Regions from separate parts of the Homo sapiens genome. Here regions 1 and 2 are each linked to region 3. The links are contacts of gene promoters, found by promoter capture Hi-C in human tissues and cell types (Jung and others, 2019). All regions are on one chromosome and are shown on one strand. Each heading gives the region's core, a stretch centred on a gene start or on the middle of the fragment in contact. The rest is flanking DNA. Distances are from core to core; before and after follow the strand shown. Region 1 overlaps LOC124901352 (a long non-coding RNA gene). Region 2 has its middle 42 kb from the start of TPBG. Region 3 holds the start of TPBG (trophoblast glycoprotein).

Region 1 (3,228 bases), core at 346-2,845, 51 kb after region 3:
GAGGCATTGATTCTGAGAAGAAATGTGCTGAAACAATGTGCCACCAAGTCTAGGCTGGATCAGAAGAAACTGGGAGAGAGAGGGGTCCCAGGCTGGTGCAGGGGAATGGAGGATGACCTGTGATCACAGCACATTGGCAACTTTCATGAGTTCAAAGATAAAATATGTCAGGAGCAATGGAGTGAGATTTTTGGAAGGATAAGGACTGTGATCATAGTAGGATATTGAAGCTGTTTCAGGTGATGATGCCTTAGGGTACGAACCTGGGAGTGGATCAAGGCAAAGGCTGCTGGAGAAAAGCTCAGAGTTGAGATGTTTCAAGAATATTTAGAGCTGTAACCTAAGAAACAAAAATTACTTTTTAAGTGAAATTTTTTATTTATCTAGAATCAGGAGGGTTTTTTTCCTGCCCACAACTCAGCTGAAATGATGATGCAATTACTTTAGTGAATATCTCAATTATCAACTTAGACCTGTTAGTTGTTCTTTAATCAATGTTGCTATGCAGAAATGTTCATGATTGTCCTACATAAGGCAGGCTAACTCATAAAACAAATAAACCCAAAAATGTATCACGGCCTAAGCATGATAGAAGAAATGGTATAGACTATGCTTCAGCCTAAGAACCAGGCAGATAGTTGATTGAATCTATAAAAAAATTTTTTTAAAGAGGATGGGATTAAATAAGATATGGATATATAATACTTGGCTGCTTTTCCTTTGCTTTTTATTATTATTATTATTTTTAGTTTCAGTTACTGGCAAAGCATCGCCAAAAGGGTATCCATACTTAGAAATGCATGCAGGATCACTCAGTGATGTGCTAAACACTCATCAAAAGCAGAGATAAGGGATTTTGGCCAAGGACAGATAACAGAGGATGGATGGCCTAAAGAGGAGAGAAAAGGACACTTACTGACTGCCTGAAACAGGAGTGGCTGCTGGCCCCAAGATCAACAGCACCAAAGTGGAACACATTGTCTTCCTCTCAGAACAAACGCCTCTGCCTTCCAACTTCTTTATTTCTGTTAATGCCCCCACCCCATCCCCCAGCCCAGTCTTCTAGTTTGCTGGACGTGGACACTGGAAGTCACTGTGTGTTTCTCACATTCTTCTAAGTCCTACAGACATCTCATAAGTCATCAAAAGCCTCTCGATTAATCCTTCATCACATCTCCAGCAGCCTGAAGAATGCTTTGTCAGGCTCATGACACTCTGCTGCTGGAGGAGCAGCAGTGGGAGGGGTTGTGGGGCCATTCTTCCTTAGCCGTCCTACCTGGTGGGTGACTCTGTGGGTTTTCTGGCAGGTGGTTGGGATTGCCCTAGAAGTGCTTCTGTGGATTGGGTGATGAGACTCTACTCTTCCAAGACTCTGCACCCCTCCAACCCTGGGATAAGATTCTGTTAAGTGCACTGCAACCTACATGCCATTTTTAAAAGGCAAAGCAGAAATATAGGGCATTGCTTTATAGATTAAAAGCTTTCCAGGAACTGTATGGCACTGGTTTTTAAAAACCACGCACACACATGCACACACGCAAATATGCACATTTACATACACAAACTTTTTTGAAAATTCTCACGTGTGAGTGTATTTAATTCTGCTTTATAGTCAAATCACAACACCAAAGAGGCACCCCTTAATTAGCAATATTCTTATACAGAGATGTTCATGGCTATGCTAGCTAGGGTAGGCTAATTGGTGAAACATATAAACCCCCAAATGTATAATGAAACAAAAAAGAGGGCAATTTCTTGCTTGTATAAGGTCTAAAATGGGTTTTTCTCATTGACGGCTGGCTCTCTTTTCAGCAGGAATTCAGATCCTTTTCATCTGTGACTCTGTCATTTTCAACATGTGGCTTCAAAAGTCTGCTTCAAGCCAGTGAAAAGAAAACAAATATGAAGAATAGACTTTTCCAGGCCTGGAAGTGGCACTTATGACTTTCACTCACATCCCAACAGCCAGAACTCAGTTATATGGGAAATGTAATCTAACTATGTGTCCATGAAGAACAGGACATCCGGGAAGCAATTAGCAGTTTTTTCTACAATGGTATAGCAACTGGATCAGTGTGGAGAATTTACAGGGCATCAAAGAAGAACCACTCTTCTTTACCCAACATGGTGGTGTAGGTACACTAGAAACTCTTGGTGGAGGAATAGGTCAGACCTATAAGTGAACAGGAAGCCAGTGGTTACATTTAGGGGGAAATATTTGAAATTCTAATAAAGTTTTTTCATTGTCTAAAATATACTGAAAGGAATTTTCTTAAATGAACACATTCTTCAATAATACAAAGTTGGCAAATTGGCAGGTTGGGAAGTAGGCAGTAGCAATGTGAACCAGTTGGAACTAGACAAGAAGCCCAGACTAGAAAAACAAAGCCCAGGCAAAAATCCAAGAATGCCAGGGCAATACCAGCATGAGAAATCAGATAAGTGAATAGAAACCAGGAAGCCATAGAAATTTTGGAGCAGAGTAAAATTAAAGTTACAAAACCTGGATGGGAGAGCTGGTCCTACTATTTACAGATGGACACAGGAGAACCCGCTTAACTTCTCTGAGTTTGTTTATTCATGTGTAGACTTGGGGTAATCATATCTACCTCATAATAACTGGAGAATCAAGTGAGATGATGCAATGAAAACTCATGTACCCTGGCAAAAGGAGAAAATGGGCTAATTTTAAGTGTTTTTGTTTTTATAAGCTTAGGGTTAAGGAGGGAACAGTGCTATTTAGGAAGAAGAGGAGTTGAAACCTCTTTTTTTGACAAATAAATCCCTGGTCCTGAACTGGCAGAAAAGGTTGAGAAGAACTACTTTGTGTAAACTCTATCTTCGTGGGGAAAACTTGCAGATTCAGTTTCCTTTATAAAAGTCCATTCTTCCTGCCGTCCTGCATGCCTTTCTCCCTCACTCCTTTCTCTCTGCTTTTACTTCCTCTTTTTACTTTTCTCCTTTATTTTTCCTCTATTTTTTTTCTCCATCTAGTTTCTTTGTTAGGTGAGCCTGGACAGTGAGGAGAGTGTAACCAATTTCCTGTATAAGGATTCTAGACAGGAGCTTGCTAAGGTTGGGTTTTAAGGGTTCAATCAATAATAGAAACAAAAAGGATGTGCTCCTGGCAAATGTGTTGTTTGATGTAACTCTTTAGGGGAAAAACTGGCAATATACACTCTTAAGTTGATCATTCTCTTTGACCTGCAAGAATTTTTCATGGTATCC
Region 2 (3,287 bases), core at 132-2,631, 42 kb before region 3:
AGTTTCTACTTCTTCACAAAGAAGACAGTGAACATATTGGAGTAGAAAAACACTAATGTTGCAACCAGGTGACAGAAGGTCTAGTGTAGCTGCTCTGAACAAATTTTAACTTCAGTTTGCTCAGGTGCAAAATGCAGGTGATATTCCAACCTATCTGACAGACTATTAAAAGACTTGTATGAGCTTATAATTGTGGGATGATTAATAAGAAATTATTATTTAGTAACTGATATGTTTATCTGCAGTGAAAATAGTATGAAGAATATTATAATGTGAAATAAGGAGGAAATGATTACAATACTTAACATAAAATATTACCTATTTCTGGTGAAAGAGCAGTACAACTTTTGCAAGCACAGCATTACATAAAGCATTTCAGTAATGTTATTCAGTTTGCTTCCCCAGGGTCTTGAAACCAGCTCATAGGTGCTGACTTGTTCCAACCTCAAAATCTTCATTCTAGGCAGAAATTAAACCAAGTCAAAGGAGACAGACATACTCAGAGAAGGGGAAAATATCTAGAGATAAACGATTATGATACTCTCTCTGATAGCCCATCAATTCCTTATATACAAATCTTAGGTGATTCTGATACCCAACTAGGTTTGGAACCAAAGTTGTAGATGGTCTAATACAGTAATTCTCAATCTCTGATGCATATTAAAATCAAGAGAAGAATTTATTTAAAAAATAGAAGCTTCACACACCCAGATATTTTATTGACTTGAGCATCAGAATTTGTTTTAAAAGTCTCCAGTTATTGTATTAATAATGTGCAGCCAGGATCGAGAACAACTGATCTAAGGTATTAAATAAGGAAGAGTTATTCCCTTCTGGAGGAGAGGGGCTCAGTTTCCTTAATTCTTTATTCATTGAGGAAACTGAGCTCCTTTCCTCCAGAAGGGAATAATTAAATTTCTGTAAGCATGCATAAATATGAATAGTCAATTCAATTCAACAAATCTTTATTGAGGACCTACATGTTTGTGGTATTCATGCCTATTAAAAGTGCCTTATTGATTCATAAGAATGAAAGCAATGAAAAATTATACAAGGCAGGCTGGGCATGGTGGCTCACACCTGTAATCCCAGCACTTTGGGAGACTGAGGCAGGCGGATCACTTGAGGTCAGGAGTTCAAGACCAGTCTGGCACATATGATGAAATCTCGTCTCCACCAAAAATACAAAAATTAGCCGGGCCTGGTGGCATGCACCTGTGGTCCCAGCTACTTGGGAGGCTGAGGTATGAGAGTCACTTGAACCCAGCAGGTGGAGGTTGCAGTGAGCTGAAATTGTGCCACTGCCCTCCAGCCTAAGCAATAGAGTGAGACTCTGTCTCAAAAAAAAAAAAAAAAGAAATTATTCAAGGCAGAATAAGGTAAATGCCACAGGAAGAAAAGCAAGGTGTTTTGGTACTTCCAAGAGCTGAGAGATAGCTTGAGGTCTTTATCAGGAATATAGTGTATAATCTGGTTTTAAAATCAGAAAATGTTGACTTCTGAATCTGTAGAACTGAAGATAATACTATGACATGATACTGCAATTCTACCTCATGCTTCAAAAGTTGCCCTGTGTACCAAAAAACTGTCAAGACTGCTCATGATGGACACTAAAACTATAAAAGTGTTTTGAAAGGAATATTGCAAAAAATAAGAGTAATCTTGGATTTCTTTTAACTTGTGTTTGTTTCAAATTACAGAATTGTACTCACTATTGCAAAAGTCCTGAAAAATTACTTGAGAATGCCTATTAGTGATGGTTATGGAATATGCAGTCTTTCCCGGATATCTTTTTAGTTACTTTTTTAACTACCAAAATATATTCTAATATGTCACTACTTCTCCAATTTCAGGGATACCCATTCACTTAAAGGCCTCAGCATCTACCATCTGAATTAGCTCAAAGTCTCCTTTCTGATTTTCTTTCCTGTAATCTCTTATCTCATGCAATTCATTATGCATATTATGAAATCAGTCATTCTGAAACACTATTGTGAAATGTTTTCAATGTCAAGTGTTATCAGTTTTGCTATGAATAATTTTATAGTATCCATTTATTTTTTTCCTTTTCAAAGTTTATCAAAGTACTACATGTAAATAATTTAAGAATAAAAAAAAATCACAAAGCTTACAGCTGTCTCTTAAATCATCTCTTCACATTCTTACTGCTTCCCAGAGGACATCTCTTTCAACTATTTTGGTTAGCTGTTTTCTCCTGGTATTATTTGAATTAATATGTTTATACCACTACTTCTAGATTTCTCAGTATTGGACATTGCCTATTGATTTCTACTCTAAAGGATTGGATGTTGCCTATTGCTTTTCTACTCTAAAGGATGAAGATTTTGCTCAGCTCTACAGTCTGCCTCTTCCTGCAATAAATGTTGTAGAGACTGGGGATATACCCGTGAACAGAACAAAGTCCCCAGTACTTATGAACTTACATTGCGGTTTGAGAAGGTAAAATAACTAAATAACATAAATAACTAAATAACTGAATTATATAATTCCAGAAAGTGAACCATAATATGAAAAAAAGGAAAGAAAAAAAGACAATGGGAAAGGACACAAGTCTCTTTCCTCCCTCTACCCAATATAGTTGTAATAAAACGTTTGATGTTTTCACCGATATGACTAGATAACTACTTGACACTGAAGCATATATCGTACTATAATTACCATTCATTTATTGTACAACTATTTCTTTTCTCTGAGACTGTAATTTTATTTGCATTTGATTTGTTTTCCATGTACTGAGAACTAATTCATTCCTATCATTCTGCCAAAACTATAAAACTTCTCTTGATGTGGTCAAACACAACAGTTAATTCTGTTTTTTTTTTCTCCTTCTCCTTTTCTTCCTCTCTCATCATTCCTCCCAGATACCTCTGTCCTCCTGCTCCAGCCTTTTCCAGTAACTTTCCAGGCCTGCAGCATAGCTGTCATGTGCAAGCCCCCCTTCATTATCTTCCTAGGATTTCCCTCTGCCTCTCCCCTGGGTGCATCACCTTTACCAGCTCCCACATCTTCCTCTTTCTTGATTTAGCCCTCCAGTGGCCTCTTGAAAAGGGGTGCACATGAAGTAAATTTATACAAACTTGAGTGACTGAAAATGTTTTTATTCTACTCTTATCCTTGATAGGTAGCCTGGGTATAGGATTCTAAGTTGGAAATAATTTTTTCTCAGAAATCAGAGACATTGCTTCATTGCCTTCTGGATTTCAGTATTGCTATTTGGAATTCTGATGTCATTCTTGTTCCCAGTCCTTGGAATGTGACCTAGTTTT
Region 3 (2,935 bases), core at 344-2,843:
CAATGAGTAATTAATTTTATTTTTAAACTTATCATACAGTAAAATTGACTCTTTTGGTTTACAAAGTTCTATGAGTTATAACACGTTGTATAGGTTTATGTAACCACCACCACAATCCGGATACAGAACATGACTACAGCTTTAGAGATTCTTTTTCAAAGTGTTTTACATTCATGTTGCAAAACACTTTTAAAAATAAGAAAAGAGATGTAGATAAACGTGCTGAAGATGCAAATTAATGAAACCAGCTTTTGTGCACAAATCTCTGCAGTTTCCAGTGTTTTCAGCTTTTGTCTGAGCCATTTTTGCTGTCGGCTTTGCAGACTATCTCTTTCTATAAAAGTAATCAGGCGTCCGTTGGAGAGTTGGGGTCTTTCTTCACACTAAAGGCACATGTCCCAGGCACAAGCCTCAGGATCCTTATTTGATCTTTTTTAATACGACCAGGTCTTAAATTTCCGAACCATGTTTTCCCTAATTGCCATTTTCTCTCTAAAATGAAGAAGCCTGGAAGAACCTTCTTATCCCTTCGGGGAAATTATTTAATTGGGACAAAGGGGATGTGGAGTTACAGAGAGCAACGATAGGGCTTTCAGAACCCAAAACCTGTCTGGTATAATAACAGATCCTTCCGGTAACCAACCATTCAATTTGTCCCTCTCCCCAACCCCATCCTCTCCATCACCATCTGCCAGATGCCCCCTGGGACAATCGACTTTGAAACCAAACTTCTCTCCCAGGTCAGCTCCTGCAATCCCCACTCCTCATCCTTGGAGCTTTCTCCACAGAAGTGACTTGACACACCGCGCTACATCTGGGGAGGGGGGCGGGTCCGCTTTCCGGGAGACTCAAGTCTTTGCTATTTGCCTTTTGTTTCTGGGATGCCTTTGGCTGCCTTTCTCTTCCATCTGCTTTTAATTTTGGTAAGAGAAAAGCTAATGAATCAGGAATGAATCTCCTCTCCACTAATCTTTTTTTTTTCTTTCTCTCTCTCTCTCTCTTAAAGTTGGCGCGCTCTCTTCACAAGTTCCATCACTACCCAAGAAGTGAGGGGGCGGGGGGGACAGGCGGGAAGGCATTAATTACACCTAAATCTGAAGTTTGCGGCCTCAAGTACCACTTTGATGGGGAGAGCTTCTGAAGCTTCCATACAACCTGCCGTGCCTTTGCTGCTGCCGCAGTAGATTTTCAGCTCATTTCTTTCTGCTGCTGCTTCGCGCTGCTCTGTCATGCCTAAATCTATCTCGTCACTGCCAAAGGTGCCTGAATCAGGGTGAATTCCACGAGATTCACCAGCGGTTTTGCTCCAGTCCAAGGTAAATACAGTATGCAAAATGAGGAACCACCCAAGGATGTCGGGGAGGGGGGAGAGAAAGGGATTCCCTCACCTTTTCCGGCACATTCCTCGTTAATTTCCACCAGGAGGAGGCGCGCAGCCCAGCTCCCCTAGTCTCTCTTCTTAAATCCCCCTACCTACGGCTGCCGAGGTTGGCCGCGCGTCGGGAATCTCCCCGACAGTCCTGGCCCTCCCCCGCCCCCCGGGTTGGTTTTTCCCAGCTGCGGAGGTTGGGAGGTTGGGCCAGGGGCTGGGGTGCGAAGAGAGTCGGCGCCCGCAACGCGGAGCCGGGAAGTCGTCGCTACTCTGGTGGAACTCAGAGTTGGTTCTGGAGGCGGCGGACGCGGAGGTGAGCAGTGGGAGCCCGCGGCCTGGGAGAGACCCGGGAGGCGTCGTTGGGGCCCCTCCCCATCCTCGGGTGGAGAGTAGGGTTGGTTCGGGTTGCCACTGTACCCCGAGTCCCACTGCTGCTTTGTTCCCAGACTCTCCCCTCCTCTTTGGAGATGACTTGAACCCCTTTGAGATCCGAGGGGCTGGCGGGGCGCGGGCTGGGGGGCGACAGTTGTAGCTCCACTTCCTGCTAATGCGAGAAGGTACAAAAAGAGATCAAAAAGTCCTGTAACCTGAAACTTCCCTCGCATCCTAACCGGGACCTGGTGGAGAGGTCTGGGCGGGGGCGGAGACACCCGGAGGCCGACCTTCCGCCGAGGCGGTGCAGGAAGGAACGGGAGAGGGAGAAGTTTGGTAGGGAAGGAATTGGGGATTAAGCGGTAAGTTAGACGCGGGAGACGAGTCTCCTCGGGAAAGGCGGAGGGCGGGAGGCCGGTCGGGTTTATTTAGTGTGGGCCAGGGAAGAAGGAAGACTTTGCGGTCTGGGTGTCGGATGCGCGTCCCCCTCCGGAGTAAAAGTGACCGGAGGGGTTGGGGAGGCGAGGCCGGGGCGGGCTTTTGGAAGGAGGTCTCTGGGACAGACTGGAGACGACTAGACTCGAAAAGGCCGGTTTTTGCACTCCGGAAGCCGCGGCAGCCACCGCTGTTCACGCCTCTCTCCTGCTTGTCCCAGGTCCCTCAGAGGATCCAGCGAGGGGCGCCAACAAGAGGCGAAGAGGTGGCACCAGGGCGGCGGCAGGAAGAGGAGCGGGAGCAGGAGCGCGGAGCGGAGCGTCCCGACCCGCCGTGCGTACTTTCTGGAGGGAAGGGGCGGGGGAATCGGCCCCTGAGGGAAGCGCCCGGTGGCGAGGGGGTTAGCCAAGTTCCGGCTGCGGCGCCACTCCCTCGGTTCCACGAGAGGAAAGTTTTTTTTTTCCAGACGCTTCCGCCGGCTCGCGCCCTCCGGGCCCAGCCTCCCGAGCCTTCGGAGCGGGCGCCGTCCCAGCCCAGCTCCGGGGAAACGCGAGCCGCGATGCCTGGGGGGTGCTCCCGGGGCCCCGCCGCCGGGGACGGGCGTCTGCGGCTGGCGCGACTAGCGCTGGTACTCCTGGGCTGGGTCTCCTCGTCTTCTCCCACCTCCTCGGCATCCTCCTTCTCCTCCTCGGCGCCGTTCCTGGCTTCCGCCGTGTCCGCCCAGCCCCCGCTGCCGGACCAGTGCCCCGCGCTGTG

Evidence for each region. Contacts are between HindIII fragments. The study calls those that stand out against the background at their distance.
Region 1: a contact is called between a fragment that was not itself captured here and the fragment with the promoter of TPBG in region 3, in 1 of the 25 tissues and cell types used here (IMR-90 fibroblasts).
Region 2: a fragment that was not itself captured here is called in contact with the fragment with the promoter of TPBG in region 3 in 3 of the 25 tissues and cell types used here (neural progenitor cells, small bowel and thymus).

The regions. Positions count from the first base shown.
Region 1 is chr6:82,413,634-82,416,861 of GRCh38, forward strand. LOC124901352 (a long non-coding RNA gene) reads left to right here. Exons shown (of 2, transcript XR_007059664.1): 2 at 1,813-2,253. Among named protein-coding and RNA genes, the nearest start is that of TPBG, 51 kb to the left of the region's middle. The HindIII fragment of the contact is 4,556 bases long and covers 1-3,228 here.
Region 2 is chr6:82,320,624-82,323,910 of GRCh38, forward strand. No RefSeq gene overlaps it. Among named protein-coding and RNA genes, the nearest start is that of TPBG, 42 kb to the right of the region's middle. The HindIII fragment of the contact is 4,411 bases long and covers 1-3,287 here.
Region 3 is chr6:82,362,224-82,365,158 of GRCh38, forward strand. TPBG (trophoblast glycoprotein) reads left to right here and starts at 1,594. Exons shown (of 2, transcript NM_001376922.1): 1 at 1,594-1,685; 2 at 2,400-2,935. The coding sequence starts at 2,739. It overlaps LOC105377875 (a long non-coding RNA gene), which reads right to left and starts at 1,434. Exons shown (of 3, transcript XR_942738.4): 1 at 1,389-1,434. RefSeq lists enhancers at 1,027-1,540, 1,541-2,052, 2,204-2,935. The HindIII fragment of the contact is 6,837 bases long and covers 1-2,598 here.